3 separate regions of the Homo sapiens genome follow, and regions 2 and 3 are each linked to region 1. Evidence: promoter capture Hi-C in human tissues and cell types (Jung and others, 2019). All regions are on one chromosome and are shown on one strand. The core of a region is centred on a gene start or on the middle of the fragment in contact, and the rest is flanking DNA. Distances in the headings are between cores, read along the strand shown. Region 1 holds the start of BICC1 (BicC family RNA binding protein 1). Region 2 overlaps PHYHIPL (phytanoyl-CoA 2-hydroxylase interacting protein like). Region 3 has its middle 6.5 kb from the start of CCEPR.

Region 1 (4,018 bases), core at 518-3,017:
GGATGTTTGTCAATAAAAATAAGCAACAAGGGAGGAAAGCCTGTAGCACATCCAAAAAACGTCTGCCAAACACTCTTGCTATTTGTTTCCACCAAGTTATTGTTTTGGAAAACATGTTGTTCTCTCTTAAAATAACCTGCTTAATTGTTCTAAAAAGCCACTGCATTTCCACAGAGGGCTAAATCATTCCCATACTGCGATGCATTGACTGATAAAGTCAAAGTAAGTTATGCATAAAGCCACAAATAACGTTTGAAAAACTCCAAACTCCTCCATGATAAAAGAACACTAGCTACTGAATGAATCTTCACCAGCGCCCTAAGTGAGACTAACGCCTGGTCCCGTACACGTATTTTAAGAATAACAGTCATTCAAACTAACTCATTTCTCTCTTTGGATGTGGGAAATGAGCCACATCGGTGGCTACAGGTAGGCTAGTAATTATCTGTTTTAAGAAAGGTCAAAATGACCTTGGACGTTTTGACGTTCACTCCAACACTCGTATTATAAATCAGAATCTGTTTTCGGTCCAGTATGGTTGAAGATTTTCTACCTGGGAAAGTCCCAAAGAAATTAAAGAGTTAAAAATAATTCTAAGTTGTGAAAGACAAAGTCAGACACCCATAGCATAGGAAGATTTTTATGGACTGAATGTAACTCAAGATGTGTTTTATAAGCCTGTCAAGAGATGAACACTGTCCTCAAACACAGCAGCACTGCCTCCACACTCCCCCCTCGCTTTGGCTGCTCACCCCGATCCTGGCCCTCCTTGACCACAGGGGTGGGGGCGGGAGCTCCTGTCTTAAGCCTTGACATCTGCAGAGCGTTTCCCAATAGTGAGACAAGGCCCCTCAGCTGGAGGAAGTGGATACTGACAAGGGGAGAGAGTGAAACAGACGGAGAGAGACAGAACTCGAGGCTGCCAGGGAATGGGGAGGGTCACGCATACTCTGTGCGGCCCGAGTGGTCCGGATGGCACAGCCCAGGTGTCCGGGCTAAAGTTGGCATCTCCAAAGTCCAGAACGCAACTTGGGCGCGCCAGTACAAACTCGGCCTTCGGCTTTTCTGAAGCCAGTCAAGTTCGCACAGGGCCCCCAGCGCCTGGAAATCTGAGAGGCGTGGAAGGGTGGGGAGTCCCGCGAAGTCTCCAGTCCCTGGGTGTCCTCCGGCTCCGCGGGGGAGCGGGCCTGGAGCTAAACCGGCCGGCCGTAGGCTGGAGTAGCGGGCGCCGGAGCGCGCGGTGGGGATGTCCGAAAAGGAGTTAGAGGCTCAGTCGGAGAGTCCGAGAACACGAGGGATGCCTACCTTGTAACATGGCCTCAAGTTTCTTCCTGTCCACGCGGAAGCGCTCCTCGCTCCACTCCGGGCTGTGCAGGGTCGCCCCGGCGACCAAGTCGTCCTCGGAGCCGGGCACTGGGGAGTCGGTGCTGCGCTCGCTGTTGGAGCCGGGGTCCGACTGCGCCGCCAGGTAGCCGGGCTCTCCCTGGGCGGCCATGGTGGGCGCGCAGCGCTCGGGCTCCCGCTGCCGCCGCCGCTCTGCCTGCGCTGCCGCCTCCGCTCGCCGGCCGGGCTCAACTGGCTCCCAGCGCCGCGGCGCTAGCTCGTCCCCCTGCAGCCGCCGACGCCACCGCCAACGCCGCCGCCGCCACTGAGCCCCCGGCGCATCCCAGCCCCGGGCGCCGCCCACGCCACCCGCCACCCCGGGTCGCGGCCCCGGTCCGGGTCCAGTGGCTGCGCCGCCCCCCGCCAGCAACGCCCGCGCGGAATGAGCGCGCCGCGCTGCCCGCGCCTCCATCCGCAGGGCTCGGCGCCCCCTCCCCGCCCGCCGCCCCTACAGCCGCGCGCTCATTGGCCCGGCCAGCCCACGGGGAGCCGCGGCGGGCGGGCGGCCCCTGGCGCTCACACACTCGCGCGCGCACACACACACCACGTACACACTGCCACTTTCTGCACTTACACGTATAAATCCTTTCCATACATGCACTTTCATAGCTCCTCAAACACACACACTCCTGAACGCACATGGAGTATCCACGTAATTCCTGTCTACACACACACATCACACACACTACTACTTTTCTGCACTTACACATACAAATCTCTTCCCCCTACATGCTCTCATAATCCTCCAAACACACAAACACAAACACGCCAAGTTCAAGCACAGCAGAGTCCTGAACGCACACTAAGCGCATACACAATTCCGCTGTTTACATACATACCCTACACCCTGAAACTCACAGCCCCAGTTGGTTCCACAAGCTCGAACGTGAGGAAGAGGAAAAAGAAGGCTTGGAGAAGAAATCATGCCCGTCTTTCGCAGGCATCGCCATGGACGTGGCTCGCATGTAGTTCATACCTCCAGGAAGGGCTCAAACCCAGACACCTCGTCTCCTCCCAGCAAAGTGGCCCGCTGCACGAGAGGTGGACAAGAGGCTTACTCTTTTTATTCTGAGAAAGGGAATTTTTTTTTTTCTTGAATGGAGTAAGGAAGGAATTGTTTTCTCTGTGATTCTCAAGGAATGGACTCAGCAGACTTTTTTTTTTTTTTAAGTAGAAAAGGGGCTCGGAGATCGCTGTGTTGGCGAGCTGGATCCAGCTGGCACGTGGGCAGGGCTGTCTTGTCAGGGACTGAGGGCTTTTCTCTGTTTTCAAGGTCAGTCTCTGACAGATGACGGCCAGTAACCTCTGAGCCTCACTGCCGAGGGCCAGCCCACCCACGGCCTCTGTCAAGCTTGGATATGAAGCGCGGGGGAAGAGGAGACTCGCTCGTACTGGGTGTGCCCTTGGAACTCTGTTTTCCCAGTTCACACAGATTCATAGCCTATTATTTTATGACCCAAAGTACAAAGACTTGCGGGGAGGAATGATGGGGATAGCAGTTTGTCACTGCGCCACAGAAGGAGGCTGCCTGGCTCACATGTAGGAAGAGCCATATCACTGGCACAGGCCTCTGGATAATCATGGAATATGCTGAAGGTAAATCAAAATTATTTCAGGTTCAGCTGCCTAGTTAACAGGAATTGACCCTGTGATGGGTACAGATGAGGAAACTGAGACCGTGGGAAATAAAGTAACTTGACTAAGGTTGTCCAGCAGCAGATAATACAGCCAATTAATCAGACCCAGGTCTGTGGGTCTTTATATAAAGTCTTACCTTTTTGAGCGGAGACCCCTCCTGCCCAGAGTCACCTCCTGAAGAACTGAGAGCATCTGCACACTTAACTGCTCTGATTCACCACCATGTGTTCCTTTTATAAACTTGTTAATTACTGTTAATTTCTATCCAAGGCACTAGTTTCAGCACCCAAAGGGTTTATGTAGGAGCATTCCCACTGTTTTCCATCAGGGACATTTACTGTGTTTTTCTATCAACAAATATTTATTGGGACCCTACTATGTACTTGGCACTGTTAAGCCCAAGGAATAGTAAGCAAAGACAGACACATCCCTGTACTCCCTCCTGGAGCTGAAATTCTAATGAGAAGGAATACTGACCAAAAAATAAATCACAAATATAAAATCATGCCCGCAGTAAGCATTACAAACAAGAGACTCAAGATATGAGAAAACCTATGATAGAGTAATTGGATTCAGTCAGAGAGGTCAGTGAAGGCTTCTCGAAACAGTGACTCTAACTCAGAACAGACGTTGGAAGAGAAGTTAACTAGGCAAGGGAAGGAAGAGCCATCCCTGCAAATGATCATCTGATCATAGTAACATCCCTGAAGGTAGATACTACAATTATCCTCATTTTAGAGTTGAGGAAACTGAGGCACAAAAGGTAAAATGACTTGCTCAAGGTTGCACGACTAAGTTGAAGAATAAGAATTTGAACCCAGGCAGTCTCTTGAAAATTAGGCTTCAGGTGCTTTATGCTTAGCCAATAAGTTATATTGGCTCTCAATAAGATTAGCACAAGTAAAGACACTGTAGCAGAAGGGGGCAGTATGCATTCCCCCATTGGATGAACTAAAAGAAGGCCAGCGTAGCTGGTACAAGGAAACAAGGAATTAGG
Region 2 (4,018 bases), core at 485-2,984, 680 kb before region 1:
GATCAAGACCATCCTGCCTAACACGGTGAAACCCCATCTCTACTAAAAATACAAAAAATTAGCCTGGCGTGGTGGTGGGTGCCTGTAGTCCCAGCTACTCAGGAGGCTGAGGTGTGAGGAGAATGGCGTGAACCCGGGAGGTGGAGCTTGCAGTGAGCCGAGATTCACACCACTGCACTCCAGCCTGGGCAACAGAGCAAGACTCTATCTCAAAAAAAAAAAAAAAAATGTTGACAGTGTACTCATAAGTGCAGTCATTTCTTTATAAATTATACATATATATATATACTAATATATTATGTACATTATAGACTGGGCAAAATAGCAATTTAAAATTATAAAATACAAAATAATTTTAAATATTTTATTTTTATCTACTTCAGAATAAAAACATTTTACTAAAAATATATGAATATGTGTTATTTTGATAAACTTGGTTTAACATTTTGTGACACAGCAATTCAATGACCAATTCTAAATTCAGTTTATTTAGATACTTTGTTTTAAGGGCTATCACAGTTGGAAAAGGTATCACACAAGAATGGGTACATCAGGCTGGGAAAGTACATCACTATCTGTATGTACAAAACACTAAGCATATACCAATTATACACATGTACCTCATGCACATAGAGTATATGTGACAGTTTGATATATCAAGTATTAAGCTCTATAGCTAACATTAATAAAACTTTTTCTTATTCTAGATAATATAAAAATAAACATTAACAAAAGTTCTATTACTTTATTCCATGGTCCAATTGATTATCTATTATGCCTTCTGGAGTTCATAAACATCACTTGAAGACCATTACAATATAACCATGGCATTTACAAAGGATACTTTTCAAAGTCTTTACATATGTAAAAACAATTAAAGCATATAATTTACCAAGTAGTAGAATACAACAGAAAAATGTTAGTAAGCAATGGGTTTCGAGACATGGTACCCTAAAATACTTTCAGCTGAAAGAATTTGAGAAAACAACAGAAGCAGGAAGGTCACTCCTTCTCCTACCCTTCTCCCCTGAGGCAGGTCATAAGACCTTCACTGGAGAGATGGCCTCCCTATACCTGGAGGAAAAGAATATCCTTATCTCTGAAGACATAGGACACAGAGGTGAATCTGAAGAAACAAGTCTTGTGAAGTTCCCACCAGCTTATTACCATGAAATCATACGCGTTTGTCTTCCAATTATACTTCTCCATGACTGTCCACTCTTCATCAAACCTAACATTAAAAAATACATAGGTTTTACCCATTTCTTTGGGTTTTCATTTCCTTATGAAGGCTCCCACGTCATGCACAGCTTATATTACATAAATTTGTATGCTTTTCTCTTGTTAGTCTTTTGTTATGTGGCCTCAGCCATGAACCTAAGATGAGAAGGAAAGACATTTTCATCCCCTACACAATGCATTCACAGACTCTTAATGATAATGTGAGAATAAAAGTCATTTTAAAAGCAATTAAATTCTAGCACCAAAATAAATTAAACAATACCTTAAATTACATAATTAATATAATAACATTAGTCAGTGCAAATATTTTGTAAAACACTTTTAACAAATCCTTTCCCCCTTTCTGTTTTCTTATATTCCACACTTTTCTTTCTCAGGGGTCATTTTTTACTTAAAAATAATGTTTTTGACATTTCACAAGAATTCTGTATGCTCAAATAAAATATAAAGAAACATTGACAGAAATGCTGGGCAACAAGCTTTCTACACTCACAGGTAAATGCCAGAAATTCAGCTGTCTAGCATGCTATTAAAATTGTCAATAAATTATCCGATTTAGCTACCTTTGACATGGCCTATAAATAGGTGAAGTTAAAAATGCTGGATCTTTGAATTTCCAATGTCTAGCATATACTTCCTCTCATAAAAATTTCAGAGATAACTTAAGAAACCGTTGTTTTAAGACAAATTAGTTGGTATCACATTTCACTGCCATTTTGCCTTTTTGTCAAATCCTTCTGAAAGAAACAACGAAGAACACTGCAGAACTGACAGAGAACACTATTGCAGGGAAAATAACTATTCCCTGATTAATGTGTTTTCTAAGTTTAGATATTTCAGATTTCCTTAAAATATGGCACATCAGCATTTCACAGTGCAATGAAAATAAATACACACACATTATCTGCACTAAATAGCACTATGCATGCATTCAGGGAAATATATTTAAAATTCTCATTAAAATATTATCATATTAGAGTGAAACTAGGTGGTGTTTCTATGTCAGAAAATTAAAATAGAAAAGTATTAACACTATAGGAAAAGAAATTGGAAAACATTCTTGAAACTATTATGAGGGTAGCAAAGGAAAACATTCAATGGTGGATCCATATGAAGCTCTTAGAAAAATAAATATCTTAGAAATACAAAAAAATTAGCTGGGTGTGGTGGTGCACACCTGTAATCCCAGCTACTCAGGAGGCTGAGGCAGGAGAATTGCTTGAACTTGGGAAGCAAAGATTGCAGTGAGCCAAGATCACACCACTGCACTCCAGCCTGGGCAACAGGGCAAGACTGCCTCAAAAAAAAAAAAAAAAAAAAACATATAGGTAAAGAAATACTTCTACAATACATAGTGCAAAACAAAAGTTCTAGAAGAAGTAGCTAAATTGTATTTGGAATTTGGAACGTTTATCATTATTTTAAGCTTAATTTCAATTCTGTAAATTTGATCATTAGAATGTAAATATGTAAAGCTTTTAGCAAAACAAGTAGTATAAACAGCAAATTCCAGAACCACTGCTTTTTTAGTCATTAGGGCTTCCTTTTTTAATCACCAAAAATAACAGCCAAAAAAGTTGTATCAAGCTAACAAGCACCACATAAATTAACATTGGATATACTGAATTACACCAGAAGAAAATATATAGAAATAGGCTCAAATATTCAGCCTTAGCACAGCTTGAAAATGTTATACAAAAACTAAAAAACCATATTTATTAAAATGGAAGGTTTATCTAAGCTTAAACAAAAAGAGTCTGCAAGAAAAATAAGTTTAAAAAAAGAGACTATGTCTTATTGTAGCCTAGCACTCAACAAATACCCTAGTAAACATGAAAATTAGTAGGTTCAAGGTCAAAAAGAAAATCTTGGACATATGTGTTCAATTTGAAAGCCTTAGACACAGATTTGCTGAAGATTTTAATTTTTCTTTAGGCTTCACTGTCACTGTTTTTCTGCTAATTTGAGTTCCACCAGTTCATTTATTTTATGCACTGTATTTATTTTATGCAACACAGATTATGTTGCTTAAGGGGAAAAAATTAATCCAGTGTATTTCTACAGTAAGCACAGATAATCATACACTTAGTTCTCTTGTCAGTCAAAATAAGGGGGAGAAATCTATCAAGCACAGAGCTTAGGTTAATTGTATTTCTTCCATGTTAACTGCCCCAAATAACCACAACCTACCAAATATAATTATATCTAAAGTAATTAATTTCCAAATGATCCTTTCAGACACCACACATGTACACAAAAGGCATAAGCATTCTAATGTACTCACTCTAATGAGCAGTTGAAAAACCTCATATGGGTCTCAAAGACTGACTGGAAGATGAAGGAAGAACACTTGATGAAGAAGAAATATAACAAGAGAAAATAACTCAGAGAGTACTACCAAATTTTCATCTTTATTCTCAAACTCTCTCCCTATGAGACACAGATGAAAATTTCTAACAGCCTTCTGAAAATTTCCATCTAGATATTCCACAGATATTGAAATCTAACTGGTCCAGAAAGAACTGTAATCGCTTGTCTTCAAGCCTACTCTTTAATATTCCCCCCAGTTAAAAATTCCTATTTTATTTGCTGGTATCAAAATGTACCCCATCTCCAAATCTAGCAAATTTAGTCATCCTCAACAACTCCTTTTTCATATGCCACACTTCCAGTTTGATCACAAAGTTAACAGATTTTTGTCTCAGAAATGTTGTTTAATTCCACCCCTAATTTTTATCTATCTTGTCTTAAAAATCCTACTTATTATCTATAATTG
Region 3 (4,018 bases), core at 580-3,079, 660 kb before region 1:
ACAATAATATCGCTCTGCTCACATATTCTGAGCTTGCAAAGACATAAAAATCCTGTATCACTTCTGTGAACATTTCTTATTTCTCCTGTGATACTGTAGATTTTAAGCACATATTATAGTATTTGCAAAGAGAAGATACTTAGGACAATTTGCTGAATTATTTTAGTGAACTCCGATACTTCGAATGTATTTAGTTATATTGCTCCAGCTAGCCTAGGATTTTATCAAAGTAGGCTACACAGTCCTTTTGGTAGGCTAGTCCATAGGTCTATCTTATTCATAATAAAATGACCCACAACCCCTGGCACAACTAAGGATTTTATGACTCGCAGAGGGTGCCAAGAACCAAAACCAAACAGAAACAAACTCCACAAAATGCATAATAAATGAGTGCATCTTATTTCCTCTCATAACACTATGGAAACTTTTCCTAAGCCCTATTGTAAATGGAAGGGCAAAGGAAAACTCATAATCAATAGAAACACAGTTGAAAGCAATCCAAATATTCTAAATTGTTTGTCCTGACTCAAGAAGTATTGGGACTTGTGAAGATCAAGTAACATAATGCATATAAAAGTATTATTACGAACTATAAAGCACCCCCAAAAGTTAGGATATTATTACTGTAGGACACCAAAACGACATTAAGAAAGCATATTTGGTTAATTTTACAGTACAAATTTATGGAAATAGTTTCATAACTTCTTAAAAACTGAGAACTTTCATATTTAGACTATCTTTATGGTTTAATGTATTGAGGATTTTAAAACACAAGGATGATTTAACATACAAATAAATAAATATGATATACCATATTAACAGACTATAGGACAAAAACCATATGATCATATCAGTAAATGCAGAAAAGGAAGTCAACAATGTTTAACATCTTTTCAAGATAAAAACCGTTAACAAATTAGGCATTGAAGGAATGCATCTCAACACAGTAAAGACTATGTATGGCAAGCCCATAGCTAATATCATGCTTAATCGTGAAAAATTGAAAGCTTTTGGTGGTTCATGCCTGTAATCCCAGCACTTTGGGAGGCTGAGGTGGGTGGATCACAAGGCCAGGAGATCGAGACCATCCTGGCTAACACGGTGAAACCCCGTCTCTACTAAAAATACAAAAAATTAGCTGGACGTGGTGGTGGACGCCTGTAGTCCCAGCTACTCAGGAGGCTGAGGCAGGAGAATGGCTCCTGAACCCAGAAGGCGAAGCTTGCAGTGAGCTGAGATCACGCCACTGCACTCTAGCCTGGGCAACAGAACGAGACTCCGTCGCAAAAAAAAAAAAAAATATTGAAAGCTTTTCTTCTAAGATCAAGAATAAAATAAGAATGCCCATTCCCACCACTTCTATTCAACATATTACTGGAAATCCTAGCCAGAACAATTAGGCAAGAAAATGAAAAAAGGCATGCAAATAGGAAAGGAAGAAAAATTATCTCTGTTTGCAGATGACATGATCTTATATATGGAAAATCATAAAGACTCCACCAAAAAACTCTTAGAACTTAAAAATTCAGTAAAGGTGCAGGATACAAAGTTGGCATACAAAAATCAGTGGTGTTTTTATACAACAGCAACAAAACAGCAAACTTTTTGAAAATCAAGAAAACAATTCCATTTACAATAGCATCAAAAAGAATAAAATACCTAAAGTAAGTTAAACCGATGATATGAAAGATCTGTACAATGAAAACTGTAAAATATTGATGAAACAAATTGTAAAATACACAAGTAAATGGAAAGATATCCCACCTTGATAGATTGGAAAGATTAATAGTGTTAAAATATCCACACTGTCCAAAGCAACCTACAGACTCAATGCAATCTCTATCAAAATTCCAAAGGCGTTTCACAGAAATAGAAAAAACAATCCTAAAATGTACATGAAACCACACACACACACACACACAAACTGAAGAGCTAAAGTAGTCTTGAGCAACAGCGAAGCCAGAGGCATCACAGTTCCTGATTTCAAACTATATTACAAAGTTAGAGTAATTAAAGCAGCATGTTACTGGCATTAAATGGACACATAGACCAGTGGAACAGAATAGAGACCCAAAATAAATCCATGTATTTAGTCAACTGATTTTTGACAAAGGTGCCAAGAACACACAATAAGGAAAGGACAGTCTCCTCAATAAATGGTTTTGGGGTAACTGGATATCCACATGTGGAAAAATGAAATTAGACCTTTATTTCACACCATAGAAAAATCAACTAAAAATGAGTTAAATACTTAAATACCTGAAACTATAAAACTAATAGGAGGAAACGGGAAAAGCTTCATGACATTGGTAATTGCGGGGGGGGGTGGGGCATAAACCCAAAGACACAAACAGCAAAAGCAAAAATAGACAAATGAAATTACATTAAACTAAAAGGCTTCTGCAGAGCCAAGAAAACAATAAACAGAATGAAGAGACAACCTATGGAATGGGGAAAAATTGTTTGCAGACCATACGTCCTAAAAGGGGCTACTAACCAAAATATATAACAAACGCAAACAACTCAATTGGAAACAGTCCCGATTTATGAAAACAGCCCGATTTAAATAGACATTTGTCAAAAGAAGACGTACCAATGTTCAACAGGTATATGAAAAATGCTCAAAATCACTAAATGTCAGAAAAATCTAAATTAAAACCATAATATATTACCTCACACCTGTTAAAAGAGCTATTAATTGACAAGACAAAAGATAACGAGTGTTGGAGAGGCTGTGGAGCAAAGAAAACCCTGCACATTGTTGGTGAGAATGTGAATTAGTACAGCCATTGTAGAAAACAGTATGAGGGTTCCTCCAAAAATTAAAAATATAATACATGATCCAACAATCCCTCTGTTGGGTATATACCCAAAGGTATATCCTAAATACATGTAATTTTTATCAGTCAAAATATTTTTTAAAATTTAAAATGATCCCACCCTCTCTTTCCTGGGGGGAAAAATGAAGGCAGAATGAAGTTGCTCATTTGCTCTTATCTTTAGCTCAGTAGGTTCCGGTAACTTGTCACTTCTCCTTCCCTCATCTGTGCTCTTCATTCAGTGCCTGTGTACTGCAGGATAGACATAGCTTCCTATTTTTCTCCCCTCTAGCTTCTTCAGTCTTTCTCTTTCTCCGGACTCTCTTTTCTTTCTCTTTTTACATTGCCAAATCTCCTTGATTTTAAAAACTATCTTACTTGAACCAGTTATTGTCCAATTTTAATATTCTAATGTATGGAAGGGGCCCATTATAAAATGTGAAGTGCTATAAACGTGGTATTCATTGCTTCCATTTACTTTTTATCCTCATACAATGTATCAGCAATCTTCAGCACCCTGCTTACTCTTCAAATGTCATTTGGATTTGGTAAGATTTTCATATCACCAAATGTAAAGGCCTTTTATCATCTGCATCCTCTTTGATATTTCAGCAGTTTATTTCTGCTGAACTTCTGTAGTGCTAAACTCTACTGGATCTCTTCTGATATGTGTGCTTCCTGTTTATCAACTCTAGCTTCTATGCTACCCCCTTGAGTGTAGGTGTACTTTAAAGTTCAACCTTTGACATTATGTTCTTTTCTGTTTAAAACTGTTTCCTCTGAGAATTCATGAATTCTCATGAATTTTAATTTCCTCTTAATGTTTAAATTCTCACCTTTATTGTCAGATTCCTGTCTCAACTCCCTATCTCTAAACAAAAGCCATTGCCCTATTTCTGACTGTCTAATGAAAATTTTTATTTGCATTCCTATAATCATTTCTAATTAATCAATTACTTCCCCAAACTAATTTCTTTTTCTAATTTCACGCATTATAGTTACTGGGAGCAGTATCTTCTTAGCTTATATTACCCAACTTTCTGATTTTCTCTTTTTCTCTTTAAATCAAACAATCATCAAAATCATTACAATTTTTCACTGTTTCTTGGATATGTGCCTTTTTCTGAATTAGTAACACTACTGCCATATTCTCACGATTTTAACATTATTGAAATTACCATGTATATAGTCTTCCTACC

The links. Contacts are between HindIII fragments. The study calls those that stand out against the background at their distance.
Region 2: a fragment that was not itself captured here is called in contact with the fragment with the promoter of BICC1 in region 1 in 2 of the 25 tissues and cell types used here (H1 embryonic stem cells and dorsolateral prefrontal cortex).
Region 3: a fragment that was not itself captured here is called in contact with the fragment with the promoter of BICC1 in region 1 in 1 of the 25 tissues and cell types used here (bladder).

Annotation. Positions count from the first base shown.
Region 1 is chr10:58,510,621-58,514,638 of GRCh38, reverse strand. BICC1 (BicC family RNA binding protein 1) reads right to left here and starts at 1,767. Exons shown (of 21, transcript NM_001080512.3): 1 at 1,306-1,767. The coding sequence starts at 1,495. It overlaps LOC124902427 (a long non-coding RNA gene), which reads left to right and starts at 2,587. Exons shown (of 2, transcript XR_007062147.1): 1 at 2,587-2,979. The HindIII fragment of the contact is 7,114 bases long and covers 1-4,018 here.
Region 2 is chr10:59,192,626-59,196,643 of GRCh38, reverse strand. The region is part of intron 1 of PHYHIPL (phytanoyl-CoA 2-hydroxylase interacting protein like); the gene reads right to left. Among named protein-coding and RNA genes, the nearest start is that of PHYHIPL, 18 kb to the right of the region's middle. The HindIII fragment of the contact is 5,532 bases long and covers 1-4,018 here.
Region 3 is chr10:59,167,995-59,172,012 of GRCh38, reverse strand. No RefSeq gene overlaps it. Among named protein-coding and RNA genes, the nearest start is that of CCEPR, 6.5 kb to the left of the region's middle. The HindIII fragment of the contact is 6,010 bases long and covers 1-4,018 here.